Regions from separate parts of the Homo sapiens genome. Here all the other regions are linked to region 1. The links are contacts of gene promoters, found by promoter capture Hi-C in blood cells and fetal thymus (Javierre and others, 2016). All regions are on one chromosome and are shown on one strand. The core of a region is centred on a gene start or on the middle of the fragment in contact, and the rest is flanking DNA. Distances in the headings are between cores, read along the strand shown.

Evidence for each region. Contacts are between HindIII fragments. The CHiCAGO score rates a contact against its expected background, and 5 or more counts as called.
Region 2: a fragment that was not itself captured here is called in contact with the fragment with the promoter of ZMYND8 in region 1 in 1 of 17 cell types (endothelial precursors); the score reaches 5.5 in endothelial precursors.
Region 3: a contact is called between a fragment that was not itself captured here and the fragment with the promoter of ZMYND8 in region 1, in 2 of 17 cell types (M2 macrophages and megakaryocytes). The highest score is 7.1, in M2 macrophages.
Region 4: a fragment that was not itself captured here is called in contact with the fragment with the promoter of ZMYND8 in region 1 in 2 of 17 cell types (M0 macrophages and M1 macrophages); the score reaches 6.3 in M0 macrophages.

The regions. Positions count from the first base shown.
Region 1 is chr20:47,353,314-47,358,672 of GRCh38, reverse strand. ZMYND8 (zinc finger MYND-type containing 8) reads left to right here and starts at 1,974. Exons shown (of 23, transcript NM_001281775.3): 1 at 1,974-2,016. The coding sequence starts at 2,003. It overlaps LOC101927377 (a long non-coding RNA gene), which reads right to left. Exons shown (of 2, transcript NR_134501.1): 2 at 4,040-5,359. RefSeq lists enhancers at 329-934, 614-963, 1,714-2,008, 1,543-2,150, 1,994-2,163 and 3 more. The HindIII fragment of the contact is 2,834 bases long and covers 1-2,312 here.
Region 2 is chr20:48,294,348-48,299,706 of GRCh38, reverse strand. No RefSeq gene overlaps it. Among named protein-coding and RNA genes, the nearest start is that of LINC00494, 63 kb to the left of the region's middle. RefSeq lists enhancers at 2,825-3,569, 3,570-4,313, 4,314-5,059. The HindIII fragment of the contact is 878 bases long and covers 2,230-3,107 here.
Region 3 is chr20:46,543,824-46,549,182 of GRCh38, reverse strand. OCSTAMP (osteoclast stimulatory transmembrane protein) reads left to right here. Exons shown (of 3, transcript NM_080721.3): 2 at 2,854-3,856. Among named protein-coding and RNA genes, the nearest start is that of OCSTAMP, 4.2 kb to the left of the region's middle. RefSeq lists enhancers at 4,096-4,165, 3,372-4,223. The HindIII fragment of the contact is 2,232 bases long and covers 2,173-4,404 here.
Region 4 is chr20:46,753,057-46,758,415 of GRCh38, reverse strand. No RefSeq gene overlaps it. Among named protein-coding and RNA genes, the nearest start is that of SLC2A10, 46 kb to the right of the region's middle. The HindIII fragment of the contact is 4,761 bases long and covers 1-4,604 here.

The sequences.
Region 1 (5,359 bases), core at 725-3,224:
TGTACAAGCAGTGGGCATCTGTTGTCCATGTGGGGGTTGGGGGGGGGCAGGGAAAGCAAGCCATCAGCTCTTCGTTTTCTTTGTGGGAACCGTGTGGGACAAGAAAGCCCACAAGTCCTAATTTTAGGAGGAGAGGGGAGACTTTATTGCTCCGGAGTTATGCCTCCTGGCATATGGCTGCGTTAACTCTGGACGCTTTCTCCAGCCTCTAAAGAATGGTGTTTATTTAGCTTCTGTGGTTCCAGGTTGCTGTTTTAAAAAATCCTGTTAATTAAGCACCTTGTCATTTAAAATGCCGAAGAAGGAAAGAGAGCGAGAAAGCTGGGGACATTTTACGGTCCTTTTCTATCTCTGGGTACAGACCAACTGCGAAGGCAGCTTTAGGGAGGAGACCAGCAAAGACCTCCTAACGCAATTGAAGTGGGTAGAATTGTAAGCAGCTCTGAACAACCAGTTAATATTTTACTGGGGAGCGGTGCCAGAGATGGGGGGGTGGGGGGGCTGCCAAATGGAGGGCTGTGTGTGAAATCGCTGCTCCATCTGCCTTGGGGGACGAAAAGAAGCCGTTCTCTGTGCAAATAAATGGAAGCAAGAATCCTTAGGAAGCCCAGGGGATTTGTCTGCCCACCGAGGAGGGCCCAACTCCCCCAGGCACACACATACAGGGATGATTGTGGCAGGAAGGGCTGACCTACGGGGGTAGGCCTGACGCATAATGGGGGCTCTTGTTTCCGGGCTGAGCGTGCCATCTTTCTGTCTCCCTCTGGATTGAAATGGCTTCTCAGCCCGAGAGGCACTGCCTGTGCCCTGGATTCACAAGGTACACGCCTCCCTGGGAAGCAAAGGCTGAGAGACAGCGGCTCTCTCTCTCTCTTTCTGCATCTGCCGGGAGAGCTGCAGCTGGTATTTTTCCACAGGCCTTCGCTGCGATCTCAAGGCCTAGTTTTTCCCAGCCAGGCCCCGAGTCCGAGAGAGGGTTAACAGGCAGGAAGCCGAAGGCATCGCAGGCTAATACGGAAGTCAGATTTGTGTTTAACTGACAGGTTTAGCAGGTCTCGGCCGCGGGGGAGGGGCCGGGAGGGAAGGGAAGTTTGTAGATCCAGGCATGTGGCCTGCGAGGAGGGCTTTGGGTTTTTCTTAGGGTAAGGACCGAGAGGGGTCCCCCTTGGCATCGTGGCAGGGCGACAGGAACCCACGTTGATTTTGCCTGCAGGACTGGCTAAGCAGGGCGCGAGAGGCCCACGGCTCCCTGGCCTGCCTTGCAAGGAGGCATGGGGACAATGACTATGCAAACTTGACCACTCTGCTCCCCTCCTCCCCTCAGCAGCTACTCCTCGCTCCTCTGAGAAGCCAGGGCTGCTCTCTGCTGATTTTTCGGGGCTCCCCCGGGCTGCCTGCTTCCCCCAGCTTCTCAGAGGCCTGCCTCAAGCCCCTTTTTCTGGCCCCTTGGCTGTTTCCCCGGGACTCCCCACTCCCCAGCTTCCCCTTCCCCTTGGAGAGCCACCCTGCTGGACTGTTCTAGAAAAAGGCTGGCCTTCCTCCCTGGACAAGGGCCGTTTCTCTGGGGGCAGGTGAGGGTGAGCCGTTCCAGCCCACTCCAAGAAACTCCCTTCCCAGGGACCTCCGGGCCTCAGGCTTTCCTGGAGCAGGTCAGGCTGGCTGCCCTGGCTGGCCCGTGCCGGGAAATCTAGCCAGGGTGCAGGAGAAGTGCGTGTGGGGGCCCCTTTCCCAAGTTTTTCTTGCTGCAAAAGGCCTAGCTTAGCCTGTCTTTTTCTATGCACAGGATGGCTCTTGCTCACCCGAGCCTCACAAAGATAATCGCTCAGGAAGTGTTTCAGCCAATCCGGGGCGGCTTTACACTCCGATTTGCCGGGGCAGCCAATCGGGGATGAGCTTTTATTAGGCGGCCAGATCATCAGCCGAAGTGCCAAACCCTTTTTCTGTGAGAACTAGGAGCCTGTCCTCCATGTTTTATAAGTATTGACATTACACAGTGTTAACAATGCATCCACAGAGGTAAGCTCGACTTTTTAACCATCTTTTTTCCCCCTCCCTCTGAGACATCCGAATTGTGGGCGAGCAGTGTGATTTCTCTGTGGCTGGCCGTGCCACACTCACCCCCAGAGCACTTATGTTAACTTGGAACTGTTTAGAGAGAATTTTTTTGCTTTCTTGGGTCACATGGCTCAGTAGCCATTAGCCATAGCTTGATTTTGCAAACTGGCAAGGGCCTGGCACACCTTTCCTTCCACCAGGGCATGGTGTTTCTGGAAGAGTTTGAAGCTAGATCCTGGTATGCCAAAAAAGAAGCTTTTTTTTTTCCTTCTTTTTTTTTTTTTCTTTCCCTCTTCCCTCTCTCTTCCCCTCTCTCTCTCTCTGAGCAGTTCCCCCCCTCCCACCCCTGCACTATTGTCTTCTCTTTTGCCACATGCCCTGCTGGGGGAAGAAAATGGAAGGTAAGCAAACAGGCTCCTCTCCAAGGAGAGCTCATGGCAGACAGCAGAGCAGGCAAGTTTGCCTCTCCAAAGAGGTTCTGGGAAGGCTGGATAAGTTTTGACAAGAGAGGAGCGTGTTTGCAAAAGAATTGTGCCCTCAGCAGAGCAGTGCTAAGGAGAGTCTAGCTCCTGGGGCCTAGGTGGGTGGTGGTGTCTGTACACGGTCTTCTCTTATTCTACAGAGCTTCTGCACTTGAAACTACATTGTTCAGCCTGTTTTCCTGACTTAGGTTGCTACAGAGTGTTCTGCAAGCCAGCCTACAGCCAGCAAATGTTTCTGAAAGTGTTTTCTAGGCTTTGGAGGAAGTTTTTTGGAGTAGGGATGGGGACTGGGGGGTGGGGGGAGAGATCTTGGACAACATCCTGCAAAAAAAAAAAAAAAAAAAAATCTGCAAGGATTCTGAATCCCTTAGCTTTCTACTCTTGCATGATTTTCAAGGAACTAATGTTACCTTTTATCCTTGTTTTCATTTTCCTGTCCCTTTTATACATTGTATCCTCCTCTCTTCTCCTGTGTCATGGAGTGTAGAGGAAATAAAATCATGTCTGTGGCTCATGACAGCATTCCATATTCAGTTGTTGGGTTGTGTTGTTGTTGTTGTGTGTGTTTTTAATAATACCATGTAACTGTTTAAAAAAATTTCCTTTTTGATCAAGTCCCAAATCTGCCAGCCTGTTCTCTCTTCCTAACTGTGGAAAAATGAGACGGTTGCTTGAACATTTGTTGGGTAAGTAAAGCAATCCATTTCCTCTGTGACCATGTTTGAAGAGTTTTGCGAACATTTGGGGTCTGTTTGTAATAGTGGGTCTTGGCTACAGGAGTTGGGGGCTTCATTAGCAGGAACAAAATAAGGGCTTTTTAAAGAGTGTCTTGATTTTAGGTGACTGTTTGAATCCACTGTTTTTCCTGATAACCTGCAGCTAGGATTGAAGATTATACTTCCTGTTTACCCTGAGTCAGGGGAGAAATGTTCAGTTCATTGTGACTTGACTCTAGACCTTTAATGGGGTTTGTTTGGATATTCAAACTGTGAGTAGGTGATGTGCTTGTGAAATGTCATGAAACTGCTTGTTCTTAGAGGTGCAGAGCCCTAAAAACATTGGTGGTGTAGAAGCTGGTGGTGGTGGTGGTATGTGTGTGTTGGGGGGGTGGTGTCAGTGTGCTCATGTTTTAGGACTTATGTATAGTGCAAAATCTCATCTACCACCAGACTGGGTTTGATTCAGGACTCACTGACCAACACATTTTGGCCTTTTTTCAGGTCTCCTCCACACATCTGTATGCATGCTGGCCCCACATAAGATTTCTCACTTTTTACATTTCCCTTGACCACTTAAGGCTGCAGCTAGAAGTTAAGTGGGAAAAGTAGAGTCTTGTTTAGCAGTACCTTCAGAATTTCCCTAGAAGTTCAGTACATAAATTTTCAGCTTGGAGACCAATCCGACATGACCGTAAATGCAGGAAATATATTCAATTGCTGTGTTATGTCAACTTTATGGAGTCAGTAATCTTTTTTCTTTCAAATGAGTGTCCAGTAGCCCACTTTCTGACACCGAATTGGAAAAAGGCTCATTTAATCAGCAGAAACGTACCACATTCTAAGTTGAGAAAAGTCTGTGCAAGGCAGGCCAGCTTAGCTTCTTAGAGTAAAACTGCAGGCAGTTAATGATGTTATATACTTAAAACTGAACAGTGCCACTGCCCCAAACAAGTAAGTTCAGACACTCAGCTATTTTCTTTGTTCTTATCTCCTTGCTGTAAATGGAAATTACATATCGAGGTTCTTGTGGCCTCCCTAGAAGCAATATCTAATCATAAGACTCCTGGTTTGGTGCCTTCAACGTTTGCATAATACTGTGTTTGTTGGGCTGGAAGGGAACTTAAGGGCAAGGCATTTGTCCTCTAAAAGCTTGCATTAAAATGGCTCCCACAGGTTTGGAGAGCCAAGATCTGTTTTCAAATGTACAGCCCCCAGCAAGTTCCCAACCCTGGACCAAGCTAGCCACTTTTCCTCTGGTACTGTGACCCCTACCAAGCATGAGTCTGTAAAAAGTTAATTGCTTTCAAAGTAGCATTATTTTCCAGTTTCAGGAAAGGGGGAAAAAAATAAATGTCTGCATTGCAGCAGGACTAGGTAGGGACGGCAGTACTGGCTCCCAGAGCAGCCCAATGGGGTTCTTCTACTCTAGCTTTTAAACCAATAGACTTGGAGGAAAGGTTAAAGATTGACAATTGCAGTGGCCGAACTAAGAACGGGCCTTCTGGAAATTTCTACCATCTTTGTTCCTTTTAGGAAAAGCAGATCTGCCAAGCAGAAGCGTCTCCTACCTTCCATTCCTAGGTCATCTCCCTTCCCTGCTTCCCCCCAACCCCCCTTCTTTTTCTCATCAAGGTAGAATGTTCTCTCTGCCACGTTTGTAAATTGCAGAAGGAGGAACAGAATGTTGGGCTGTTTTCCTTTTTCCTTCTGCCTCCTCAGTCCCCAAAGAGGATACACAGCTGCAAGGAGCAAACACAGACACACTGAAGCTTTTGATTCCTCTCCTTTTTTTTCCTTCAAGACCCTCCAGGATGGATTCACTTTCTGCTTTGGGAAATTAAGTGGCATTCACGTGGGGGAGGGGGAGTAACTGCTTTTATTAGCTCCAGAAAATGGTCAGTGTTCAGTCTGTAACTAGGAATTAATTATATATAATCACTCAGTAAACTTTCTACAGAGTTTTTCTAATTGCTGAGCCTGATCATAGTTAGCCCGTTGGCGCCAAGTCCAGTTACTTTTATAATTAACAGCTCAAAGATTTGAGTCAGAAAGAAACAATTGGGGGCCTCTTGGATTATAAATTAGGGATGAAAACAATAGCTT
Region 2 (5,359 bases), core at 1,419-3,918, 940 kb before region 1:
AGAGAATCATATACCAGCTTTTAAATAATTATACTGAAACAACACATGTCACTTCCTCAGATTTCCTTGGCCAAGCAAGATCTTATGTCCATACATAACTTCAAGGATGGGGAATTGTAAACCTTTTGTGGGATGGGAAGAGGAGGGGAATCTAGAATGTTGGTGACTGCTGAGTATGTCTCCCATAGTTGAGTTTTAGTTACAGAAAGGAAAGAATTGACATGAAAAGCAACTTCACTAATATGATGGTTCTCTCTTTGGCACGGTGGATCTCGGCAACTTGTTGGGCTTCTAAGTGGATGGATTAAAGAGAAGCATCATTTGAGGCTGGCTTTTTTTTTTTTTTTTTGCCACCAGTCTCTTTATAATCTTATTTTTGTCTGCGTGAAGGTATTAGCATACATTTTCTGGGCTTCCAGCCAGATGAGTCATTTTCTTTGCCTATTTTCCTGTCTCCATGGTGCCCTGCTGTTTGTCAGAACCAAACAATGGTCCCAGCCAAAAACTGTGCTGGGGGTCCTAAATCCACCTAGCTTAGTGCCCAGATACCCCTCCTGCTCTCTGGATGGAGCTCACCCTCAATCAGCTCCCCGGCAGGACCAGGCGCCATGCATAGACAATGCCACTTGGCATCTGATAAGTAACATTTGGTAGCAAGCCCGAATCAACTTTTCATCATCCTAGACAAGAGATGCATTTGGGACTCTTCAGTCTCCCCTGAAGCCCTCAGGCAGGCTTCTGTCATGGCTGTTTGGGATTATGATAACAGTGCTGGGAGGTCCCCACCTGCACCTCAGGCCAGACTGGAGAGGGCGAGAAAGCAAAATTAAAATGTCAGATTCCTACTGGGGATTAGGAGGCACTCAACTCTAGCCAAGTTTTTTTCTCCCTGAAGAAGGGGAAAAAAAGAAAATAGAAAACCCAACCCCAATTCTCCCATCCTCCTCCACAGTCCATAAAATTATAAGTTAAGGGATAAAAAGAAGAGACATAATTCAGCAAACCAGTGAGGAACACTTTGCCTGAACTGATACATTTTTCTATCAGTTTGAGGCCAGCAAAGCAAAAGAATTTCTGTTCACACCTCTGGTGTGAACAAGGGCTGTTTCCAGGAGAGAGATACCTCTAAAATAGGGAAATAGAAGAAATTGCAGTCTGTCAATTATTCACAGTTTAGTCTAACAACTATCTAAAATGTAGCCAGAGACAGTGTGGGGAGCAGATTTTAAAAAGGGCTCCCAATGGTCCCCACTTCCTGGTATCTGTGCCCTTGTGTGATCCCTTCTCGTTGAATGTGGGCTAGACCTAGGGACTTGCTTCAAACAAATAGAATATGGGAAAAATGATGGGGTGCTACTTTCGAAATTAGGGTAGAAAAAAGACTGATGTAATGTCTTATTCTCCCCATCACCGGCTTGCTCTGGGGGAGCCAGATGCCAAGTGCTGAGCTCCCCATGGGGTGAGAATCAAGGGAGGCCTCCAGCCAACAGCCACAAAGAACCAAAGGCCTCAGGTCCGCTGTCTTGAGGAACTAAATCCTGCCAAAGACCACTTGAATAAGTTCAAAAGCAGGTCCTCCAGCCCCAGGTGAGTCTTAGGATGAAACCACAGCCCCAGCTGATACTGTTTGCAGCCTTGAGAGCTAGAGAACTCAGCCAAGCCACATCCAGTTTCCTGAACCACGAAACTGCTAGATGACAAATACATGTTTCTTTGAGCCACTAAAATGTGGGGTTGCTTGCTATCTAGCAATAGATAACTAATGCCCATGGCTAAAGTGGGTGGGCATACAAGCCTGCCCAGGGCAATACTATTTGACCAAATTTTCCTGCTGAAATTTCTTTGACGGTTTTGAAACCAGATGATCCCAGCTTAGACTGAAGCAGCCATTCTCAAATGTTTAGGTGTGAAGACTTCATTCAAATGGAACCTTATGGAAAAGTTCTATTTGTCAAACAGATCAAAAACAAGCTGCTCTGGCTGAACTGGCGGTGAGGGCTCCATTAGACACCCAGCTCTGACTAACGTCCCCAGAGGAACCTTCTGTCCACCTTAAAAATTCCGTAGGAACCATTGGTCTAGCTGGTTGGGGCAGGCCTGCCCCAAGAATACTCAGTGATAGGAGGTGTCATCAATGACTGACTTTAAGAAAAAGCAATTTTCCCCCTGCCCTCACCACGAGTATAGACTTGGGTGAGCCCCAGGTTAAGGCAAGGAGGATGGAAAGCTTCTGCAGCGTCTGCTGCAGGGCCTTTCTCCTTCCTCCCAGCTCTCCCTGTTCTGTCCCTACCCTGAGCTCTGCTGTTCCCCAGAGACATGCCTCCATCAGCCAGCCAGAAGCCCCTGCTGAAGGTGGACTGGTATGGCTCATTCAGCCATCCTGCCTAGAAGTTGCTCAGTTATAAAAGGGAAAGAAGGAAAACCAAAAAGGAAGGAATCTCCAATGCTGGAGTTTCATACTCAGGGCAGGCTGGTGGGGAGATGGGCAGCCTTGCTCCATGCTGGTCACTGTGAGAGAGGCCTGGAGTGTTCTGCTGCCCCGAGGTGCAGAGATGGAGATGGGGCAGAGGCACTGGGTCCCCAGCCATGCCTCTCTCTGTAGTCATGAGCTTCTCACCTCCTGCTGCACAGACCTGTGGTTCCACTCAGATCCCAGCACAGAATTGCACCTGACATTGGGTCTCCTGGTTCTCGGCAGCTGGATCTGGTTCTGTCCCTGTGGGGAGGTGGCTGCACCTGCAGGTCCTCCCGGGATCCTGACTGATGCACAATAGACAAATCACCATGTGAGGAAACGCTTCAGGGAGGAGGGCGTCTCCACTCCCCAACAACCCAGCAAGACAAATCCAAAGGGATCCAGGAGAACGGAGCTAGCAGGAGCCTGCTGCTAAGGAGAACGAGTCGAGTGTTCTCATGTTTCTGAGGTTATCTAACAAGATGCACAGACTCACGTGGGACAGACATCATTTCAGGGCAAAGATGATACGCTGAGTGTGGGTTGGGTATTTGTGGCTTGAATTTTCAAAAGCATTTTAGGTGCATAGAAAACTATTCTGCAACAAACCATTTCACAAAGGATATCAAACTTTACAAGCACAGTGGAAGCTTCTAGTGTAACTCTCCACCATCATGTTTGCCTCCCTCCCTCTGAGAATCACACCTGAACTTTAGGTTTACTATGCTCGTGTATTTCACTTTCACTGCATTTTCATGTATGACCACTTTTCCAGTTTATTTTAACCTCTGTAGAGTACTCCACGCCATGAGCTCCAGCTGGTGGACATCCGGGCTGGCTCTGTGTTTTTCATGATCACAGACAAACAAAGCTGCCATGAATGTTCCAGTGCCTGGGTGCATGTGACACACTTGGGGCCAATGAGATGCAACAGGCCTTTTATTGTGGCTTCTGAGAGCAGCAGAGGCTCTTTTCTGCCGGGCTGAATCTGTCCTCAGCCATGACAGGAGATACTCTCTAAGAATGGTCCTGAGAGGGAAAAAGAAGAGCCAAGAGGCCAGGAGACACTCGTCCGGACCTGATGACATCATTGCAGCCTCTAGATCCAGCTGTGCCTGCAACGAACAAGGCATTCCTGGCACATTTTAGTCACCTGATGTAATAAAATTCTTTCATTTAAAGCTATTTAACTCGTTTTCTGTTGCATGCAACCAAGAGTGCTGACTGATTAAATCTTCCAATTATATGATGTTTTTACTTTAAAAGGAGTATTCAGTGCCTTCACCTGAAAGGAGCAATAATGGTAGTATTGAAGGCACACAGCAGTCCAGTGGTACTTAGAGGGTCCCTAAAATTATACTGTGTGGCCGGTTACTACTCAGTCCTTAGATTCAGCTGGTTCAGCAAGAAGAGTCATCAAGCTATCAGCTCTCTTCCCTCCTTTCTCCTGAAGGTGTCCTTCTTTACCTTTAAGACAGAGCACCCAACTAGCTTTGGCTGTTTTCAATTAGGCCTTCAGCTAAGAAATGGAAGGAAAATTTAAGGCCAGAATCATCGGAATGCGATGACGTGTACTTTCAAAAATTTTCCAGGAGGAGCCGACCTCATTCAGGACTTTGATGCTGGATTGAGTGCTCTGGTTCCACTCAAAGCTTAAGAATGCTTGACCTCTGATCTGTTAAGGCCTCAGACAAAGGGCAGACAATTACATGCAGGGAGAGAAAAATAGTTTTCTGGTTACAAAGATAATTTTTAATTGTTCTGCAATTGATGATTATCTAAATTTGAGTTTTGGTGTTTTTTTGTTGTTGTTGTCAACGTAAAGGAGTGAAGGATCCCACCAGCCTTCAGGCCTTGCTATTTAAGCAGGATGAACTAACACCTGCAGAATAATATCTGCATCTGTCACTGCTTAGTTGGATTTCAGGCCATGTCCTTTCGTCTTGCTAATCAGTTTTCCTGATTTCCTGGACTAATAACTCTTTCTCTGGTCTCCATTAGCTGCACATGCCATTTCTCTTGTAAAGACCTTTAAGTTTATGTTCTTATTTAAAGCAACGTTTGATGGACACCAGGCTTGCTTATTGAGTGTGTCTCTGACCCTAGGTCAAAGCAGAAAATGGGATTTTTGAGAAATGTCACTGAGGTCATGGTCGCCAGGATCAGCATAGTGAGCACAGACCCAGGGCTCAGAGGGCTACAGCAGGCAGCAGGAAACATCGTGGTGGTAAACTCCCGGGTCCTGTCTGAAGTCAAGTACCAAGGAGAGAGAATGGAAGCTTGGCAGTTCACTGAATTTATTCCAGAAGGCGAAGCTTGCACCTTCTCCTTGGTATTTGACTTCAGATAGAACCCAGGAGTTTACCACCACAATTCAGAGCTGACGAAGGACTGAGTTTTTCTAGATGAAAAAAAAAAAAGTTACCAAAGTGATTTGCACATTGTAGAACATTTCAATTCACAGATTTAACATCAGAGGCTTTAATGATTTGTAAATGACTCTGTGTGTTAATTGGGATGGCTTATGGGCAGTTAAAAGATCCCCAAATCTCAGCAGCTTAAAATAAGAAACAGCTAATTCTCTCAAATGCTATGTTTCCCTTCTGTGAATACAGTGGTGTCTGCACATTGTATTTGCTCAGGGCCCCAGCCTTCATCTTGACACATTTCTAGAAAATCACCATGACAGGTGGAAGCTAAAGTGGTTTAATGAACATTGGCTCAAAAATGATACACGCTGCTTCCACTCACATGTCTTAGACAACACCAGTCACATGACTGCACCAAACGGCAAGGTGGCAGGGAAGTGCAATTCTACCAAAAGGCAGGAAGGAAGCCCTTACATATTTAGCAAATAGCACTGATGGCCACCATACCCCATCACATGCAGCCATGCCAAGCTTG
Region 3 (5,359 bases), core at 2,039-4,538, 810 kb after region 1:
GGTTTCTGTATTAGTCAGGACTCATTGAGTTGCAAGTGACAGATTGATCTTACACTGCCTGTAGAAAAACAGACATCTCCTAGTGTGTGGTCCGGCATAGATTTCGGCTTCAGGCATTTCTGGATCCAGGTCCTCCAACAAGGCCACTGGGACTCTCTGTCTGTTTCCTAACACTGTTTTCCTTGTGTTGCCTTCATCCCAGGCCGACTCATACTACATGGTGGTCCCCAAGGCTTGAGGCATCTTCCTACCAGCTTAGCTCTCAAGGCAACAAAGGGCAGTTTTTTTGTCGTTGCAGCAAAATCCTGAGGAAAGCTCTATTGGTCCATCTCCGGTCAGGTGCAATCCCTGCACCAGTCACGGTGGCCAGGGGATCAGAGGTACTTGGATCAACTAGACCCAGTCACATGCTTATCCTTCAAGCTGTTGATGGTGGAGCAAGTCAGCAGCTTTGCCTGTAACCAACACAGTGACAGCCTCCCCACCACCCTCCCTGCCCTTTATAACCATATTCCCGTATAACCTTTCTGCCTGCTCTCACTTAAGATAATGTATGATCTCCAACCTCAAGTGGGCCTCAGTGTTGCCCAGCACATATGTTATTGCCCCAGTTCGTTTGTTCTCCCACTTTCCTGGGCAACCATTTTGTACTTTCTTCTTCCTCTTCAAGCATCCATCACCTCCGCCAGCATCTTACCTTCTCTGCTGACCTTGCTTCCTGCCAACCTGAGCAAACAGAAGCAATCGGTCATGCTACTCTTAATGAATAGTTTTGGAGCACTCACAACATGGCAGACACTATTGTAGGCACTTGGGACATATCAGTGACCAAAACGGACAAAGTCCCTGCTCCGGTGGAGTTGACTCTAGTGGTAGGTAATAGCTGATGTGATACTTACCATGTGCCAGAAACAAAGTGACCCCAGGAGGTGCATACTTTTATTGCACCATTTTACAGATGAGACAGCTGAGACACAGAAAGGTTGTGATATGTACCCAAGTTCACATAGCTGGCAAGTGGTGGAGCAGAAATTTGAGCCCAGGCAGTCCAGAGGTCATGCCCTTAACATTACTCTGCTCTGCGTATATCAGAGGATACTTTTCACAGGTGCATACACGCTGCCTGTTCATTCGCCATCATCTGTACCTATTTCCTCTGCTTTCCCACCTGCTATTAAGGATGAACGACCCCTGCTCTATTCTAAGACCAGCCCCACCTTGCATGTTCTCAGTCTCACTCTCTGCCTCCACCCCTACAGGTGTCACTCCAGGGAGTCTCCCCTTTGTCAATGTCTCCCCTCTCGATGAGATCTCCCACCTGCAAACATGCTATAGATTTCCTCCCTTTACATGAATTCTCTTGGTCCAATTTCCCATAGCTACCAGCCACTGCTTCATCTCCCTGCTGTTTTAGTGTAGAAATTACCGGAAAGAGTTGTCTGTATCTGTGTTTCCTATTCTTCTCCTTCCCGTCTCTCCTGGACCCAGTCTAGTTGGATTTTGGCCCCAAAAGCCACCGAACTCTCCCTGCCAAGGTCAACAGTGACCTCTAAGCGGCTAATAGGCATTGCTCAGTCCTCATCATTCTTGACCTGTTGGCTGCATTTGACGTACTTGATCACTCCTTTCTCCTTGAAACATTTTGTTTATTTGGCTTCCTAAGCACCACATTGGTTTCTCAGTCTCTTTTGCTGGTTCCTCCTTATCTAAGAGCCCCTAACCTTGGAGCGCCTTGAGGCATGTCCTTGGATGTCTTTCCTCCCCAGTGACACACTCTCTTGAGGAATCTCATGGTGCACATGGCTTTAGGTAGGGATATAAAGTTGGGAGACATCTAATAATCAGACTCCCAATGTTATAACTCCAGCCTGACCTCCCCTCTGAATTCCTGACTTCTATTTCCAACCACGTCGTCAAAAGCTCCACGGAATGGCTCAACTGAATCTCAAATTTAAGAGTTCTGAACTGAATTCCTCCTCTCTCCCCCTCCACTCAAACCTGTTTTGACCACAGAGTTCTCATCTCAGGAAATGACACCTTGGTGCTTCCAGTTGCTCAGACACAAAAGCACCTCGTCATCCTTGACTCCCCTCTTTCTCTCACACCCCACAACCAATCAGCCTCTGCAAATCTTGTTGACTCTGCCAACAAAATGTGTTCAGAATCCAAGCTTTCCTTACTACTCCTCTGCCATCGCTCTTAACATAGTGCAAGCCCCACGAAGGTAGGGACTTCTGTTTTTTTCATTCCTGTTTCTCCAATGGTTAACACAAAGTCGTTGCTTGATAAACACTTGTTGAATGAATAAATATAAGGATGATAGAATATAAAAGTCCCTCACAGGCCAACTAGTTCACCCTCCTCACCCCTAAATTATAGAGGAGACCCTGAAGTTCAGAAAGAATAGAAGGTCCAGAATCATACAGCAAGCCACCAAGACTATTAATTCAAGTGAAATCGTTTCTCTTCTTCTCTCTCCTCTTACTCATTCTCTCTCTTTCACCTGTGCTTCTCGCTCCATGACTCTTTCATTCTCTTGGGCCAGTTGCCTTCACAAAACTGTAATAATGGACTCAAACAGGGCAGACTTTCATCCTCACATCCTCAGGTACTGCATGGGAATTGGGCTCTTCCCTGACAGTTCCAGCGAGAGTAATCCTGGGGAAGGCTCTGATTGGTTCAGCTTGTGTCACGTGGGTATACAGTGACTTACTCTGATTGGTCCACCTGGGTAACTACAAGGGTGGAGTCTGTTAGCAGAGCCTGGTGATGGGTATGTGGGGCAGGGGCAGTGGACAGACACCCACCCACCCACCTCCTGATAGAGATGCCCTTCAATTTCCTTGTGTGCAGGTGGAGGTCCTGGCACTTGGGGTTCTGGAAGGCCCTTGCCCCACTGCAGGCTGCCTGGGACGCCTTCTCCCAGCCTGTTCCAGCCAGCTGTGGCCAGCTGCTGACCCAGCTCCTCCTGTGTGCCTCCCTGGCTGCTGCTGCTGCAGGTCTGGTTTATCACTGGCTGGCATCCTTGCTGCTTTATCCTCCTGGACCTTCAGCCATGGTTGCCACTGTCTGTGGCCTCCTGGTCTTCCTGAGCCTGGGCCTGGTACCCCCAGTCCGCTGCCTGTTTGCACTCAGCGTGCCCACCCTGGGTATGGAGCAGGGCCGCCGGCTGCTCCTGTCCTACAGCACTGCCACCCTGGCCATTGCTGTGGTGCCCAACGTCCTGGCCAACGTGGGTGCGGCCGGGCAGGTGCTGAGGTGTGTCACCGAGGGCTCCCTGGAGAGTCTCCTCAATACCACTCACCAGCTGCATGCAGCATCCAGGGCTCTGGGCCCCACAGGCCAGGCAGGCAGCCGGGGCCTGACATTTGAGGCCCAGGACAATGGCTCTGCCTTCTACCTTCACATGCTCAGGGTCACTCAGCAGGTCCTGGAGGATTTCTCTGGCCTGGAGTCCCTGGCCCGGGCAGCAGCGCTAGGGACCCAGCGAGTGGTCACAGGGCTGTTTATGTTGGGCCTCCTGGTGGAGTCGGCATGGTACCTCCATTGCTACCTGACAGACCTGCGGTTTGACAATATCTACGCCACTCAACAGCTGACCCAGCGGTTGGCACAGGCCCAGGCTACACACCTCCTGGCCCCTCCACCCACCTGGCTGCTCCAGGCGGCTCAGCTGAGGCTGTCACAGGAGGAGCTGTTGAGTTGTCTTCTAAGGCTGGGGCTGCTTGCCCTGCTCCTCGTGGCCACGGCTGTGGCGGTGGCCACAGACCATGTAGCCTTCCTCCTGGCACAGGCTACTGTGGACTGGGCTCAGAAGTTGCCAACTGTGCCCATCACGCTCACGGTCAAGTATGATGTAAGTGTGATGATGGGAAAAGGGAAGGGAGTCATTGTTTTGAGGGCAGGGGGAGAATCTGTTAAACCCTTGACTTGTGATGAAATTTGACTTGCCTCCAAGAAACAGCCCTTGAATCATCCATGGGGCCCCATACCATGGGCAGAGGGACTCATCGGATACCCACAACAGCTCTAGGAAGTGGTTTCTATTTTCACTTCCTATTGCAGTTGAGGATGCTGAAACCCAGACACCTTAAAATAACTTGCATCCAAGGTCACCCTTCACAAGTGGCAGCTTGTCCTAGCCTCATTTTCCACATTTGTACAAATTGAATCGATCCTCCTAATCCTAAAAGGCTATTGTGTCTTACAATGTGGTATTGTCTTAAAGTACCTAGTAAGCTCCATGGCACATAAGAGATTATTTAATAAAGAGTGGCTATTATTAATAGCTTACATCTGTCTATGTCAGACTGGAGGAGGACTTTGGAATGGCCTTGATCAGGAGGCATCCAACTATAGCCTTCAGGACAAATCCAATGGCTTCTTGGTTTTGTAAATAAAGCTTTTTTAGAACACAGCCATGCCATTTGTCAATATATTGTCTGTGGCTGCCCTACAAAGGCAAAGTTGAGTAATTGCAACAGAGACTGTATGTCCTGCAAAGCCTGAAATATTTGCTATTTTAATAGTGATATAGAAAATATTTACTATCGACTTATAATCGGATATATTACTATCAGATCAAGAGTTGTGTTTTTCGATCCTTTCTTTTGCCACGGATCTTTTTATTTTTAATTTTTAGTAGTGAGGTCTCACACAAAAGTCCATTGCATAAAACATATCAAAGTGTCAAACTTCGAGCTAATAATATTAACAGTTTATATTTATCAAGTACTTATTACATATTAAGAAAGTGCTTTTCAGACTGCACAAAATCAATTTAATCAATTTAAGGAGTCATAAATAGTGTTTTTAATGAAATAGAATCAACTGGAAAATTATAAGATTACATCTTAGGCAATAAGGGAGTGTATGGTTTTTGAATATTTTCTTCAATTACAAAACAATCTCTGCTTTGAAGGTACTGTAAAATGCATTTCTTTTCTTTCCTTTTTTGAGACAGGGTTTCACTCTGTTGCCCATGCCAGAATGCAGTGGTGCAGTGGTGCAATCACAGCTCACTGTAACCTTGACCTCCTGGCTCAAACGAGCCTCCCACTTCACCTACCTCTGCCTTCCAAGTAGCTGAGACTACAGGCATGCACCACCACCACCCAGTTAATTTTTAATATTTTTTTTAGAGATGGTGTCCCACTATGTGGCTCAGGCTGGTCTCAGACTCCTGGGCTCAAGCATTCCTCTCACCTCAGCCTCCCAAAGTGTTGGGATTACAGGCATAAGCCACCATGCCTGGCCTGTAAAATGCATTTCTTACCATAGGTCACAGTAAAGAAATGTGTCAGGCAATGTTCTAAGCATGTTCCCTGATTTACTCATTTTCACCAAATCTCAGATAGTC
Region 4 (5,359 bases), core at 975-3,474, 600 kb after region 1:
CCAGGAGGTGGGATTCTGGGCAATGTAGGTTTCTTTGTTCTGCTTTTTTGGGCTTTCCGCAGTTTTCTTTAAGGCACACCTACTCCCTTTACGATGAAAAAAGTGGTACATAGGAGGCAAAGGAACCCTCGCGCCCTCTGCTGTTCATCATTTGCTACTGCAATGCCCCTCCCAGGATCTGCCGGAAGTGCTGTGTGGGGGTGACAGGTGTTCCCCCCCACCCCCTAAATTTCAAAGCAGGCTTTTCCTGTATCAGAAACGGATGTCAAAGGGAATCATGACAGACTCTCCCATCCCCCGGGAGTCTTTCCAAATTCCCCTCAGTCCCCTCATCCTCTGCGGAAGGCCCCCAGAGCTCCATTCCCACACCCAGGTCAACTCCCCCTGCGTCCCTGTCCCTCCTAACTCCTTTCCCCGTCCCTTGATGAGCTCTAGGAGTGGGAGGTGCATGAGGACAGCAGAGTCAGGCCTCTGGGTTGAAATCCTGTGTGTCCTTGGACATGTCACTTAGCTGCACAGGACCTCAGTCTCCTCATCCATATAATGGGACAGTGAGGAGCCAGGTTTTCTCAGCCTCAGCACTGCTGACATCCCACCCGGATCGATGTTTGTTACGTGGGCTTGTCTTGTGCATTGTAGAAAGTTTAGCAGCATCCGTGGCCTCCACCCACTAAATGTCAGCAGGACCCCTCCTGCCTAGGGCCGACAGCCAAAACGGTCTCCAGACATTGCTGAGTGTCTCCTGGGGCACAAACTCACCCCAGGTGAGACCACTGCAAGCCTCGTTTCTGTCAGTCATTACACTTTGCATCGTGCTACAGTTTTCTGCGGTTAGAAGGTGCTCAGAAAATACCAACTGAAGGAGAATTTAGGGATAATCTGCTCTGAAAACAAAAAAGAGGAAGAAGGAAGAGCAGGGATTGAAAGGGAGGCCTGATGCTCTCGTCCCCCGCGTCCTCCACCCCAGCTAGCTGCTGCCTGCAGGCGAGGTCAGTTACATCTTGGCCCCATCAATGTCCCCCTGCCCTTGCCTGAGCAGGCCTCAGGCTGCAGAGTTGGGACGGGCCTCCCAGGCCCCCTTCGTGCTGGGCCTGTTGTGCTTGGCCCTGCCTGCGGTCTCCACCGAGAGGAGAACGTACTCAATTAACCTACAAAAAACAATAGCAAAAAGGGTCAGAGTGATTGTGAAAAAGAAAAGGTGCTGAAAGATTCTGGCAAACAGGCCCCCAGTGGGGGTGGACAAGGGCAGCCAAAGAGTTTGGCTAAAGTGGGAGAAAACTCAGCAGCGTGGGGGCACTGGTGTCCCCTTGAGGGGACAAGGTCAGCTAGGAAAACAGACTTACTCCATTCCTTGGCCTGTGGGCCTCCCATTTTTGAGTGTGGAGGCAAGGAAAACACAGCTGGAGCCAGGTCTCCTGGGTTCCCTACGCTGGGGTGGAGGGGGGCACAGAGAGCCTCAGGAAGTGTTTGCAGCATTGCGGGTCTTGCTGGCGTGGGGGCAGATTCTTACCTCCTCAGTTCCTGGAGGGAGAAGATCTTTATATCCCCAAAGCCTACAGCTCAAGGAATCAGCGATTAGCATAGTGGAGGGTTCTGCTAGGCAGTCTCTCTGTGTGGCTGGAGCTGAGGCCCCTGCCCTATGGCCCTCCCCTGGGGAGAGTGGCCTCTACTGTTAGCAATGATCCTCAGGTACTAAGGGCCAGGCACTGTACCAAGCACTCTATACATTTTACCCTAATTCATCCTTCCGATCCCACTGTGTGATAGCCTCTAGTTATCTGTTTATGTGCACATAGTAGGTATGCATATTTTTGTGTACCTACTATGTGCATATTTGTTGAGCACCTACCAGTGCCAGGTTCTATCCTTGGTGGTGGAAATTCAATGATGAGAAAAAACATGTGGGAATGCAGAACAGCTGTCAGGCTCCTCCATCACCAGTGGTAATGTAAAATGGTGCAACCACTCTGAAAAACGGCATGGCAGTTTCTCGTGACGTTAAACACACACTTACATGATCCCGCAATCCCGCTCCTGGTGTGTAACCTACAGAAATGAAAACCTTTGTTCATGCAAAATCTAGTACATGCAGGGTTAGAGCAGCTTATTCCCAATCACCAAGAACTAGAAACAATCCAAATGTCCCTCGCCTGGGGAATGGATTGACAAGTGGCTCATTCATAGGATAAATTACGAGTCAGCAATAAAAAGAAACAGACGATTGATGGATGCAACAACATGGATGAATCTCAGAAGCATTCTGCTGCAAGAAAGAAGCCCGTCCCCAAAGGCTGCAAGCTGTGTGTCTTTTATATGACACATATTAAATAGAAAAGGCAGAACTACAGAGGAGAGACCAGATCCATGATTGACATCGGGCAGGGTGGCAAAAGGGCCTCACTATCCAGAAGTTGCTTGAAGATATTTTTGGAGATGATGGAACTGTTCTGTGTCTTGATTTTGGTGATGGTTGCATGACTGTGCATTTATCAAAGCTCACAGAACTGTACTCCAAAAAGTGAATGTTACCGTATGTAAATTAAACATAAATTTAAAAAAAGAAAAACAGATATGAACCTTGCTTTTGTGGAAATTACGTTCCAATACATGGAGAGGAAATAAACAAATAGGCAAACAAATATACACTTAGTGAGGTGGGATATGGAGAAAAAAAAGGGACAGAAGAAGTTGGGTGGGGTGGAAATCTAGGTGAGCAATCAGGATGGGCCTCACTGAGGAGGTGACATTTGAGCAGAGGTCAGAAGGAAGCAAAAGAAGGAGCCATGTGGATACCTGGAGAAGATGGTTCCAGGCAGAAGGAAGGAGCTTGCTTGGTGTGTTTAAGGAACAGCAAGGAGGCCACGGCAGCTGGAGCACAGTGGGGAGTGCGGGGAGCTGAAATGGGGCAGAAGGTACCAGGAAGCCAGATCTCCAAGAGCTTTGAAGGCCATGGTAGAGTTTCAGTTCTTGCTCTGAGTGAGTGAGGTGAGAGCTCTGGGAGCCGAGCAGAGGAAGGCAGTGATGTACTTACTTATTTTAGCAATTGATCTGGTGCTGTGTGTGAGGCACAGACTGTCAGGGGTGAGGTGGAGTCAGGGACCAGCAAGGAGGCAGCTGCCACGGCCCAGGCGGGAAGCAATGCAGGCCTGGACCAGTGTGGTAGTGATGGAGGTGATGAGAAGTGGTCTCGCTGTGCATACAATTGAAGGTAGAACCCACAGGTTTTTCAGACCAATTGAAGGTAAGGCTTGTGTGAACGAGAGTTCTCGAGGGTAACTCCAGTATTTGGGGCTCAACTTCTGGAAGAATGGAGCTGTCATGTACAAAGATGGGAAAAGTGGCTGGAGAAACAGATTTGAGGAGAAAACCAGGAGTTCTTTTATTATCCTCAATTTAGCAATGAAGCAGCTCAGGCCCAAAGAGATTGACTCCCTCGTGCAAAGTCACCCAGCCAGTGTGGGATGCAGATGAAACTGGAAACAGGTCTGCCTAACCCCTGAGCTCTGTCCCTTCTGCAGGCTCCTACTCTAGACCAAGAAATGGCTGGGCTCAATGATACTCAAACTGTGGCCCCCTGAGCTTGTTAGAAATGCAAATTCCTGCGTTCCACCCAAGGGGGCATTTGACATGTGCCTGTGTTGTTTGCATGGGCTTTGACTGCAAGTAATCTGTCATCTAAAAGAGGTGAAACTGCAAGTTTCCTAGAAAGTATGTCATATAATCAGAAGTCCTGAATTTGGGCTGGGCGCCGTAGCTCACACTTGTAAAACCAGCACTTTGGGAGGCTGAGGCAAGTGAATCCCTGGAGGTCAGGAGTTCGAGACCAGCCTGGCCAACCTGGTGAAACCCCGTCTCTACTAAAAATACAAAAATTAACTGGGCGTGGTGGTGGGCGCCTGTAATCCCAGCTACTAAGGAGGCTGAGGCAGGAGAATCGCTTGGGCCAGGGAGGCAGAGGCTGCAGTGAGCCGAGATTACACCACTGCACTCCAGCCTGGGTGACAGAGCAAGACTCCATCTCAAAAAAAAAAAAAAAAAGAAAGTAAAGAAAAAGAAATCTTGAATTTGATAATTCCAGGATTAATGGAATTAACCACCAATTGAGCTGGTTAATTTGGCAACTCGATTATGTCAGACACAAAGATGGGGGTCTCTACAATTCCCTTGGTCTTTCCCTTGTGGTCACAAGATGGCTGCTGCAGCTCCAAACGTTCTGACAACATCCAAAGATAAGACCAACAGGAGAGAAGTTTCTCAAGTGTCTCTATCTTATCACACACACACAAAAACTCTGTTTCAGAAGCTCCCAGGAGACATCCACTTGTGTCTCTGTGGCCAGAACCAGGGCATCTGCCTGCCTATAAAGCAATTGCTGGCGGAAAGGAATGACTTAGCCCAATCGCAATGGATGCCCTGGGGCTGGGGCTGAAGCATCTCTCCATTGGGCACATTGTCATCCGCCGTGCATGGAACACATTGGGCACTCTCTTAGCCAAGAAGGGGAGCTGGCTTTCCAGTAGACCAGCAATCTGTCTGCCGCAGCCCTCTGCATATGCTTTTGTGTATTATCTTATGAGTATATGTATAACCTTATCGAATAAGCTTATACCCAAATCACGGAGAAGCACCGCCAGAACTGATAGCAGAAGGGGTCAGAAAGAAATTATTAAGCTTGGGTCCTTCTTTTTCTTTTCTTTTTTTTTTTTTTTTTGACACGGAGTCTCGCTCTGTCACCCAGGCTGGAGTGCAGTGGTGCTATCTCCGCTCACTGCAGCTTCCGCCTCCAGGGTTCAAGCAATTCTCCTGCCTCAGCCTCCTGAGTAGCTGGGATTACAGGCGCGCGCCGCCACGCCCGGCTAATTTGTGTATTTTTAGTAGAGACGGGGTTTCACCATGTTGGCCAGGCTGGTCTCAAACTCCTGACCTCGTGATCCACCCGCCTCAGCCTCCCAAAGTGCTGGGAATACAGGCGTGAGCCACCGCGCCCGGCCAAGCTTGGGTCCTTCTATCAGACCATATAAGTTACTGTTTTAAAATAAATCCCACCATCTCTGCCTGGCACTGTTAGGTTGCCGTGTATATGAGGCAGAGGGGTGAGTTGTAAAATTTAACCTTGTGAGAGTGACTTCAATCTTGGTGATTGTTTGAGGCTTTCTTTTCCTTCTCTCTCTCTCTTCTTTCCAGTTCTTCACTCTAGAAAGTAGTTCGGGCTTCTTTTGATCTCTGAGAGACCCTGCTTAATCTCACGATAGCCCTGCAGGTGGGTTTGATTGTTTCTGCTGCACAGATGAGAACACAGGTCCGGGTGCAGCAGGGGCTCCCCGGGCCAGTCCTCCGGCTCAGCCAGCTCTCTCCTCTA